2 separate regions of the Homo sapiens genome follow, and region 1 is linked to region 2. Evidence: promoter capture Hi-C in 16 types of primary human blood cells and fetal thymus (Javierre and others, 2016). All regions are on one chromosome and are shown on one strand. The core of a region is centred on a gene start or on the middle of the fragment in contact, and the rest is flanking DNA. Distances in the headings are between cores, read along the strand shown.

What was found. Contacts are between HindIII fragments. The CHiCAGO score rates a contact against its expected background, and 5 or more counts as called.
Region 1: a contact is called between a fragment that was not itself captured here and the fragment with the promoter of BRSK1 in region 2, in 1 of 17 cell types (total CD8 T cells). The highest score is 5.1, in total CD8 T cells.

What each region holds. Positions count from the first base shown.
Region 1 is chr19:54,208,057-54,211,140 of GRCh38, reverse strand. No RefSeq gene overlaps it. Among named protein-coding and RNA genes, the nearest start is that of RPS9, 8.7 kb to the right of the region's middle. RefSeq lists silencers at 2,384-2,559, 3,006-3,084 and a cis regulatory region at 2,360-2,620. The HindIII fragment of the contact is 3,581 bases long and covers 1-3,040 here.
Region 2 is chr19:55,279,961-55,286,284 of GRCh38, reverse strand. BRSK1 (BR serine/threonine kinase 1) reads right to left here and starts at 2,288. Exons shown (of 19, transcript NM_032430.2): 1 at 1,707-2,288. The coding sequence starts at 1,842. HSPBP1 (HSPA (Hsp70) binding protein 1) reads left to right here and starts at 6,175. Exons shown (of 8, transcript NM_012267.5): 1 at 6,175-6,250. RefSeq lists a silencer at 5,813-6,042 and an enhancer at 6,163-6,302. The HindIII fragment of the contact is 8,428 bases long and covers 1-2,994 here.

The sequences.
Region 1 (3,084 bases), core at 1-2,500, 1.1 Mb after region 2:
CCCCTGCCACACACACACAACCTCAGTTATTAAACACGTGTAAGTCTTCTGACGGCCGCTCCCTGAGCCAATCCGGATGTAGCTGACACCTCTGCAGAGCTGGTAGACTATGACAAAGAGAAGCCCTCCTGCCTCGTTCCACTCCACTGTAAACGTATGTGTGTCATAGGTCATGAGGAGTCCACATAAACCACTTAGAATCCTTATCAGCACATTGCCTAGTGGCTGGGCTCACGCTGGAGTGTGGTTATGGTTAACCATTAGTGAAACCCTCCCATATTGCATTCTGTGCAGTGATGGGCTTGTAAAAACAGACATCTGTTTCCACTGTGCTTTCTAAAGATTCCCCGGTTTTTTTTTTTTTTTTTTGAGATGGAGTCTCACTCTGTCACCTAGGCTGGAGTGCTGTGGCGCGATCTCGGCTCACTGCAACCTCCACCTCCCGGGTTCAAGTGATTCTCCTGCCTCAGCCTCCCGAGTAGCTGGGATTACAGGCGTCCACCACCACACCTGGCTGATTTTTTGTGTCTTTAGTAGAGACGGGGTTTCACCATGTTGGCCAGGCTGGTCTCGAACTCCTGACCTCATAATCCACCCACCTCCGCCTCCCAAAGTGCTGGGATTACAGGTGCAAACCACCGTGCCGGGCCGGATTTTCCATTTTCTTAAACATAGCATCCAATAAATCTTCACGGTGCACAAGTCCCCTGAATGACAAGGTCCCAGCTTCCTTTGGCTCACTCTCAGGTCTGAGAACAGCCCACACTGTTTCTGGTGGAGGACACTCTGCGTGCCACACTCACTGTTCACGTCTTGGTCTCTCCATCCCCCAGAAGGACCCCTCACTCCCATGACAGGTGTACGCTGCTCACCTGCTATGAGCATGTTTTCCTCCTTTCCTACAACTTGTCGAAACCGGAGCAGAATTACCTCCTATCTAAACATGGGTAATGTGTCATTAACCCAGGCTCTGTGAGTCCAGCAGGAATCCTATCAGCTTCACCCACGACTCCCCTCCTCCTGGCAGCATGCCTGGATGTGGTAACCACTGAATAAACATCGCCTGATCGCAAGGCTCATGAAAGAAAAGATGCATTACAGAGCTCAGGACATGGAAGGGGCTTGCCTCTAGAATTAGAACAGTGACTGGGCTGTGTCCTAAGGCCCTGCCCTCTCTGGCCTCAGCCTCATGTGCTAGAACAAGGGTCACCCCTGGATGAGAGTTGGGTGAGGTGGAAGCAGGCAGAGTATGGGGAAGTCAAATTTTGACTCAAATGTGGTCTGAAAGGCCCCCAGAGCCTGCTGTCCCCTCAGCCCCATCCTTCAGGGGGAGCAGAGCGAGGCCCTGGGGAAGGGGCTGTTCCCCTCCTGCAAGGCCACTGGTGAGAACACATGACCTGTAACACAGAGCCCGGGGCTCCTTATACCAGCACACCCATCTGCCCTCCAGGCTCTGTGGCTCAATGGTCTAATTCATCTGCACTGCTGGGGACCGTGACAGGCAGGGCCACAACCCCCACCCTCATTGCCCATCTCCCTGCTGTGTGTCCAGGGAAGCCTTAGGTGGACACGGGGTGGTCAGTGACCCCGACCTCTTGGGCCAGAAGCACAAGGCAGAAGGCATGGAGTTGAGACCGGTGAGAGCTCTCCCTGCAGGCCCCAGCGGGCCCCAGAGAGTACGCATCCCCTAAATACCAGTCGCCTCATCTCAGGGGCGTCCAGGCAGCCCTCAGCCCTCCCTCTCAGCACAGCCGGGATCGCCGGTGCTCTCTGGAGACAGCCTGACCCCTCAGCATCACTCAGAGGCCGGTTTTGACAGCTCTGCATTGACCAGGACAAGGGGCTCCCAGCCCGCCAGCGCCTAGATGGGCAGCACCTCCTGGACGTCCCCCTGGGCCATGCGAGCCACCCCCCTGGGGGCCAGCACAGATGCTGCGGTGGACACAATGCCTCCTGCCCAAGGTCGGTCCCCCGTCGCCCCCACCCAACATCCTGGTTGCAAGTGAGGGGCCCCTACCCAGACCCCATCCCGTTCTCTGCTCTGGACCCTGGGCTCAGGGTCGAGAGAGAGAATGATACAGGGATGTGGTCCAAGGAGATCACCAAGAAAGGGAGAGCAAGAGGCCCGGAGATTAAACAGACCCACGCAGGCCAGGCACTGTGGCTCACACCTGTCATCCTAGCGCTTTGGGAGGCGAGTGGATTGCTTGAGGCCAAGGGTTTTAGATCAGCCGGGGCAACACATTGAGACTCCATCTCTACAAATTCTTGAGATGGAGTCTCCCTCTGTTGCCCCGCTCGCTGCCTCTGTAGACAGAGCCCTGAAGACCCTTTTCCTTTCCAAGCCCGTAGGCTTCTCCCCAGAACCGCATACCTCAACTCCCACTCTCCCCTCCCTCCAGGCTGCCGTGGAGCTCCGCAATTGTGAGCTACACCCAGGTGAGCCACCACCTCTCAGACCAGAGACAACTGCAGTCTCTTCCTCCCAGGGGAGCTCCCAGGAGCCCAGTGAGTACGCTGCCCCGGCCATCCACTAGCCCAGACCCCACGCTCCAAGGAAGGAGACCACAGTGAGCCCAGATGGTGCAGCAGCTGGCCCCATGGACACAAGACCACCGTCATTTCCCAAGTAGCAACGCTGAGGGAAGGAAGGGCCAACCACCTAGCTTGAGTAAGCCGCAATGGACTTCTCCACGTGGTTTACAGTAACTTAGCTGTGTTCCAGAACTGTCCCTGCCCTGACCTCAAACCCTGAAGGCCTCCAGATAAGGACCCAATCAACTACAGCCTGCAGCCTGAGGGGGTTGCACAATTTCAGGTTTCTCACTTCCTCAGAAACCAAACCCCTTCCCAACACAGATGATCAACAAGGCTGAGAAAAGGGAAGCCTGCCAACCTCTTGACCGTGAGTCCACAGAAGCACTGAACGCGGAGAGGAGGAACAGACTTCCCTCAACGCCCCTTCTCCTACGCTAACCCACTTCCCCTACATGTGAAGACAAAACTGGGAACTTGCCCAACATCAACTGCATCACAAGCTTTGAAACTAGCAAGCAAATTCTGTGAAGTGTTCCCCAACAATCA
Region 2 (6,324 bases), core at 1,039-3,538:
GGCCCAGGCGTCCAGACCCCCAGCCCCTCCTCCCTCAGACCCAGGAGTCCAGGCCCCCATTCCATCCTCCCTCAGACCCAGGAGTCCAGACCCCAGCCCCTCCTCCCTCAGACCCAGGAATCCAGCCCCCCCAGCCCCTTCCTCCCTCAGACCCAGCACTCCAGGCCCCCAGCCCCTCCTCCCTCAGACCCAGCACTCCAGGCCCCCAGCCCCTCCTCCCTCAGACCCAGCACTCCAGACCCCCAGCCCCTCCTCCCTTAGACTCAGCACTCCAGACCCCCAGTTCCTCCTCCCTCAGACCCAGCACTCCAGGCCCAGCCCCTCCTCCCTCAGACCCAGTCCAGGTCTGACCCCTTCTTCTCCTGTAACTCAGGAATTCAGGTCAGCAACACCTTCACACTCTTACCACTCAGGATCTGGGACTTTGACCCTCTCCTTTTCCCTAGGGTCTCAGCTCCCAGTTACGGCCCAGTCGGTCCCCACTCCTGCCAGCTCTGGCCCTGAGCTTCATAGAGACTCTGGGCGTTCAGCTCCCATGTCACCTCCACCCACCATCCATCCGGCAGGAAGGAGGCCGCGGCCGGTGGCCAGCGTTCAGCAACAGCAGAGGATGAACGCCCTTTCCACAGCCGCTCCAGGAGACGCGCCTGCTGCAGCCCACCTTCCCACCCTCCATCCTGTTTCCCACTCTGAGCCAGCATGCCAGAGAAGGGGAGAATGTCTTAGGCCCCACGGCCCCTGTCACCCCAACCTGCTGCCTGGAGAACTGGAGGCCAGAGGACAGTGGGGAGGGAAGAGGTTTCCCAGGATGGATGCACTGCACCCCGGTCTGCAGCTGTACTGCAGCAAGAACCTCAGGTCCCAGCCCGGCCCCACTCTGCAGGCCGCCTCCATCCCCTCCCTGGCCCTGGAGCCCCTCCAGCCTCTGCCCCTATGGGGACTGGAGCACTGGGGCCCCAAACTCCCTGTCCCAACACTCAAGGTTCCGACCGCCCTCCTCCCTCAGACTCAGGAGTCCAGGCCCCCAGCCCCTCCTCCTTCAGACCCAGGAGTTCAGCACCCCTGCCCCTCCTCCCTCAGACCCAGGAGTCCAGACCCCAGACCCTCTTCCTTCATACTCAGGAGTCCAGGCCCCCAGGCCCTCCTCCCTCAGACCTGAAAGTCCAGGACCGCAGTCCCTCCTCCCTCAAACCCAAAAGTCCAGGACCCCAGTCCCCTCCTCCCTCAGACCCAGAAGTCCAGACCCCCAGCCCCTCCTCCCTCAGACCCTGGAGTCCAGGCCCCCAAGCCCTTCTCCTTCAGACCCAGGAGTGCAGGCCACCAGCCTCTCCTCCCTCAGACTCCGGAGTCCAAGCACAGCCCCTCCTCCCTGAAACCCAGGAGTCCAGACCCCCAGGCCCTCCTCCCTGAAACCCAGGAGTCCAGGCCCCCAGGCCCTCCTCCCTCAGACCTAGGAGTCCAGTGCCCAGCCCCTCCTCCCTCAGACCCAGGAGTCCAGGCCCCCAGCCCCTCTCCTCCAGGACCTGAGTCTGCGCCCCCCACCCCCTCCATCCAGGGACCCAGGAGTCTGAATCCCAAGTCCCTTCTCTATGAGGGGCCCAGGGGTCTGGGCAGCCAGCCCCTGCCATTTGAATACCCTGAGTCCCGCCTCTGCCGCCACCTCCACCCTGCCCCCCGCCCCAGGTGTCCCCTTCTGCTAGGCTCACCTGTCTGTCCTTTGCCCAGCGTCTTCTCCAGCCGATAGGGGCCCACATATTGGGCGTGCTGGGGTGGGTGGGGGTGGGGGTGGGGGAGGTGGTAGGCGGGAGAGCCCCCACCTCCCTCCTTGGCCCCGGACGACATGGTGCCCTTGGTCCCGGCCCGACCGGTCCCCCGGCCGCCCCCCCTGCGGCCGTCGCCCCGTCTCTCCGGTGGGGGCCGGCGACCGCTCCGTCCCGGCCCCCCCGGCTGCCCCCCACCTCTCCGGGGGTCCCCAGGGGGCTGGGCTGGCCCCCCCCAGTCGGCGGGCCGCGGAGCTGGGGGAGGGGGGGCTGGCCCGGGGGGGTCAGGCCCCGGGAGTCAGCATGGCCCAGGGGGGCTGCGGGGCCCCCCCTCCCCAGCCCGTTTCTGGCCGGCCCCCCGCTTCCTGCGCCTCCCCCCGCCGGGGGGGTCTGAGGTGCGGGCCGGCGGATGCTGCAGGCCGAGGTCCCCCCCGCCCCCCCACGCGCCCTCTCTCCTCCGCCTCCTCCTCCTCTCCGCCTCCCCCCGCCACCTCGTCCTTTCTCTCCGGCACGCTGACATCACCATCCGGGGACTCCGGGCCCTTCCCCAAAGTTAACCCTTTCGGAGGGGGGAGGGGGAGCGAGGGGGGGCAGGGGGCGGGCCTCCAGCTGGAGGGATGGAGAGGAGGTGGGAGGATGCAGGAGAGAGGATGGAGGGAAGGATGGAGAGAGAGAGAGAGGACCCAACAGATGGGGCAGAGATGGAGATACACAAAGAGAGATGCTGGCTGACACAGAGACGGGAGACAGGCAGAGACGCCAGAGGGATGGAGACCACCAGAGACAGGCTGAGGCAGAGAGGGAGGAAGGGCAGAGATGGACAGGGACAGAAGAGAAGGAAGGAATGGCAAGCCGGGAAAACAGACAGGGAGAGGGAGAGAAAGCTGCTGGAAGCCGACAGAGGGATGGAGAGAGTCAGAGATTCAGAGAGACAGAGAGAGGAAGACCAACCAGAGAGGTGGGGGAGAGGGGGCGCAGATGGAGCTGTAGAGAGGGCCGGGGGTACACACAGGTGGAGGGACACGTGCTGGGGAGAGGTGGGGACATATGGAGGGAGACAGAGACAGAGAGGGGAAAGAATTCTTGGAGTTGCTGACCCAAAATTCATGTCTGTTTCCCCAGCCCCCTAAGGCCACCCATTCAGGGTAAGGGTAAGTCTGTGTCCCCACCAATGTCAAGGCCCCATATCTACCCACAGCCCAGAGTGATTTTGGATTCTCTTTACAGAGAAGCTTCCAGAACCCCCTCAGTTTCCCTGTGTTATGTTTTTAGACCCCCATATATTCTCTGTGCTCGTCATAGGGTCCTTTATATCTTCATGTGGACCCCAGTACAGCCCATACATCCCCACTGTAGCAGGTCCACAAGCATGTGCTCTGCCTGTGAGTAACCCGCCTGCCCCCATTAGCTTTCCGCATAAACCATAGATCCCTCTATGTCATGTACCCGCAAGTGTTAGACACCCATTTAATTCTCAAGTCCCCTGTAAAGCACACCCAGGGCTGGGCAAGGTGGCTCATGCCTGTAATCCCAATACTTTGGGAGACAGAGGTGGGAAGATCAGCCTGGGCAACACAGTGAGACCCCATCCCTACAAAAATTTTTTTAAAAATTAGCCGGGCATGGTGGCATGTGCCTGTAGTCCCAGCTACTTGGGAGGCTGAGGCTTGAGTCAGTGAGTTCTAGGCTGCAGTGAGCTACGTTTGCACCACTGCACTCCAGCCTGAGCAACAGAGTGAGGCCCTGTCTCTAACAAAAATAAAATAAAATAAAGTGCACACAGGAGCCTATTGGCTCCTGTGAGATTTCCCAGTCCCCCATTCAACACCTTGAGTCCACACATCTTTAATGAGTGCCAAATCTCAGCCAGGCACTGTTCCTGTTGGTAAGAACGTGGCAGTGACCTAAATCAGCAAAAAGGCCTGTCCTGTGGAGCTTCCATGCTGGTGGATGAAACAGATGATCAGCAAGGTCAATAGGCAAAATGTATGGTGTGTTAGATAATCATGTCCGTGCTGAGGAGGTGACTACAGCAGGGAAGGGGGTTAAGAGGGGCCTGTTGAGCAGGGTACAATTTTAGGCGTCCGGCTTTTTTTGTATTTTTAGTAGAGATGGAGTTTCACCCTGTTAGCCAGGCTGGTTCTGTAGCCTTTTTTTTTTTTTTTTTTTTTTTTTTTTTTTTTTTTTGAGACGGAATCTTGCTCTGTCTCCCAGGCTGGAGTGCAGTGGCACAATCTCAGCTCACTACAACCTCCACATCCTGGGTTCAAGCGATTCTCCTGCCTCAGCCTCCCGAGTAGCTGGGATTATAGGCACCCGCCACCATGCCTGGCTAATTTTTGTATTTTTAGTAGAGATGGGGTTTCACCATGTTGGTCAGGCTGGTCTCAAACTCCTGACCTTGTGATTTGCCCACCTCAGCTTCCCAAAGTGCTGGGATTACAGGCGTGAGCTACCACACCTGGCCTGGTTCTGTAACTATTGAGTCCCTTTTTGCTCTCAAATGTCTTGCTATAGATGAAAAATTATATGATCACCCTCTTTTTTTTGTTTTGTTTTGTTTTTTGAGACAGGGTCTTCCCCCTGTTGCCTAGGCTGGGGTGCAGTAGGGCAGTCATAGTTCCCTGCAGCCTCGACCTCCTGGGCTCAAGTGATCCTCCTGCCTCAGCCTCCTGCCTAGCTGTGATATAAGCAGATGCCATCACACATGGCTAATTCTTGTATTTTTTTGTAGGGCTGGGGACACACTATGTTGCCCAGGCTGGTCTCGAGCTCTTGGGTTCAAGTGATCCTCCCACCTTGGCCTCCCAAAGTACTGAGATTATAGACCTGAGCCACTGCCCCCGGCCATGTATTATAAACTGATAGACTTGTACATAGATGTCCGTGTCCTAATTCCCAGGATCTGTGCATAAGTTACCTTGCATGGCTGAAGGGACTTTGCCCATGTGACTGAGATAGGGAGATTATCCCAGTTATTTGGGTGAGCTCGATGGAATCACAAGAGTATTTGTGAGAAGGAGGCAGGAGGAGCAGTCAGTGATGGAGATGGGAAGGTGGAAGCAGAACTTGGGGTGATGGGGCCACCTGTCAAAGAAAGAGTGTGGCCTCTAGAAGCTGGAAAAGGCAAGAAAAACATTCTCCCCGAGAGCCTCCAGAAGTGATGCAATCCTGCTGACAGTTTGATTTCAGCCCCGTGAAACCCATTTTGGATTTCTGCCCTCCATAACTGCAAGATAATAAATGTGTGCTGTTTTAAGCCACCACATTCTTAGTAATTTGTTAACAGCAGCAATAGGAAACTAATATAATAGCACATCCACAGGCCCAGATGCATCTCACAGCACAGTGCTAGAAACACCACACACACACACACACACACACACACACACACATACACACACAACCTATCTGTTTGGTCTTCCTGTTTCTGCCCAAAATATCCCCCTGCACAACCACGCCCAGCAGGTGATTGATACGTTTGTGACTGTGTGCCCGTTTTGCGTTGAGCACAACCTTTTCCTGGAGGAAAACGCCTCCTATCCAGGATCAACACGGGAGTTTCTTTAAGCCCAGCCCAGGGCCAACACCTCTGCAGATCGGCCCGCACCAGCACGTGCCCAGGCCTAAACCCCACTTCTGGAGCACAGAGGCCTCGGGCCTCCCCACCAAGCTGGCTCCTCTGGCGCTCTGAATCTTGCTGGGCTCTGGGGCACTTTGCTTTCCGGCTCTAGGCCTCAAGAATCCTCTCCTCTCCACCTGGCAGGACATGGGGAAGAGTCCATGAGGGAGAGGCTGGGTGATGAGAGGGATCCACGCCGCAGCTCCACTTGACAGATGGAGAAACTGAGGCCGAGAGAGGGGTTGCGGGGGGCATAAGGCTCACAGGCCAGCCATTACGGTTGCGACCCCAGGGCTCCTGTAGATGGGGTTGGTGGCCCCGGTGGAGGCGAAAGTCAGATTAGTTGGGGCGAGGTCCCAAACCTTCTAAGGATGACTGACAGCAATGAGTGGGAGGGGCCTGTAAAGGGGCCGGGGCCCAACTGGGAGAGTCTGAAAGGCCTAGAGCAGGGGCGGGAATCGTAGGGTGGGCGGGGTCAGACCTGGGGGCGGGGCACACGTTAGAAGAGGGGTGGAGCTTGCAAAAGTATCGGGGGCGGGACTCGCTGAGGTGCGAAAACTGGGCCAGGGGCAGGGCTTTGACCAGCTACTTGAGCGTGAAGGGGCGGCGCCCGCACGAAGGGGCGTCCCAGCTTGGAGGCGGGGCCCGGATGGGAGGGGCGGGGCCGAGTGCAGTATCCCGCCAGGTGAGAAGGGGATAAGAGTCGGGCAAGCAGCTTCAGCCGCAACCACGGCACGAAGTTGGGTGGGTACGCCTGGCACTTCCGGGTGAAACCGTGCGTATTTCCGGTTAAGATGGCGGCGCCCAGCAGAGTCAGGTGCGGACGACTTTGTCTGTAGGAGCAGCGGCGGCTTGAGGACCCGGGGAGGTGAGATCCGCCTTATTCCGGCGCCCCTCTTCGGAGAGGAGGGAGAAGACTTGTTGCTAAGGAGACCAAAGGGC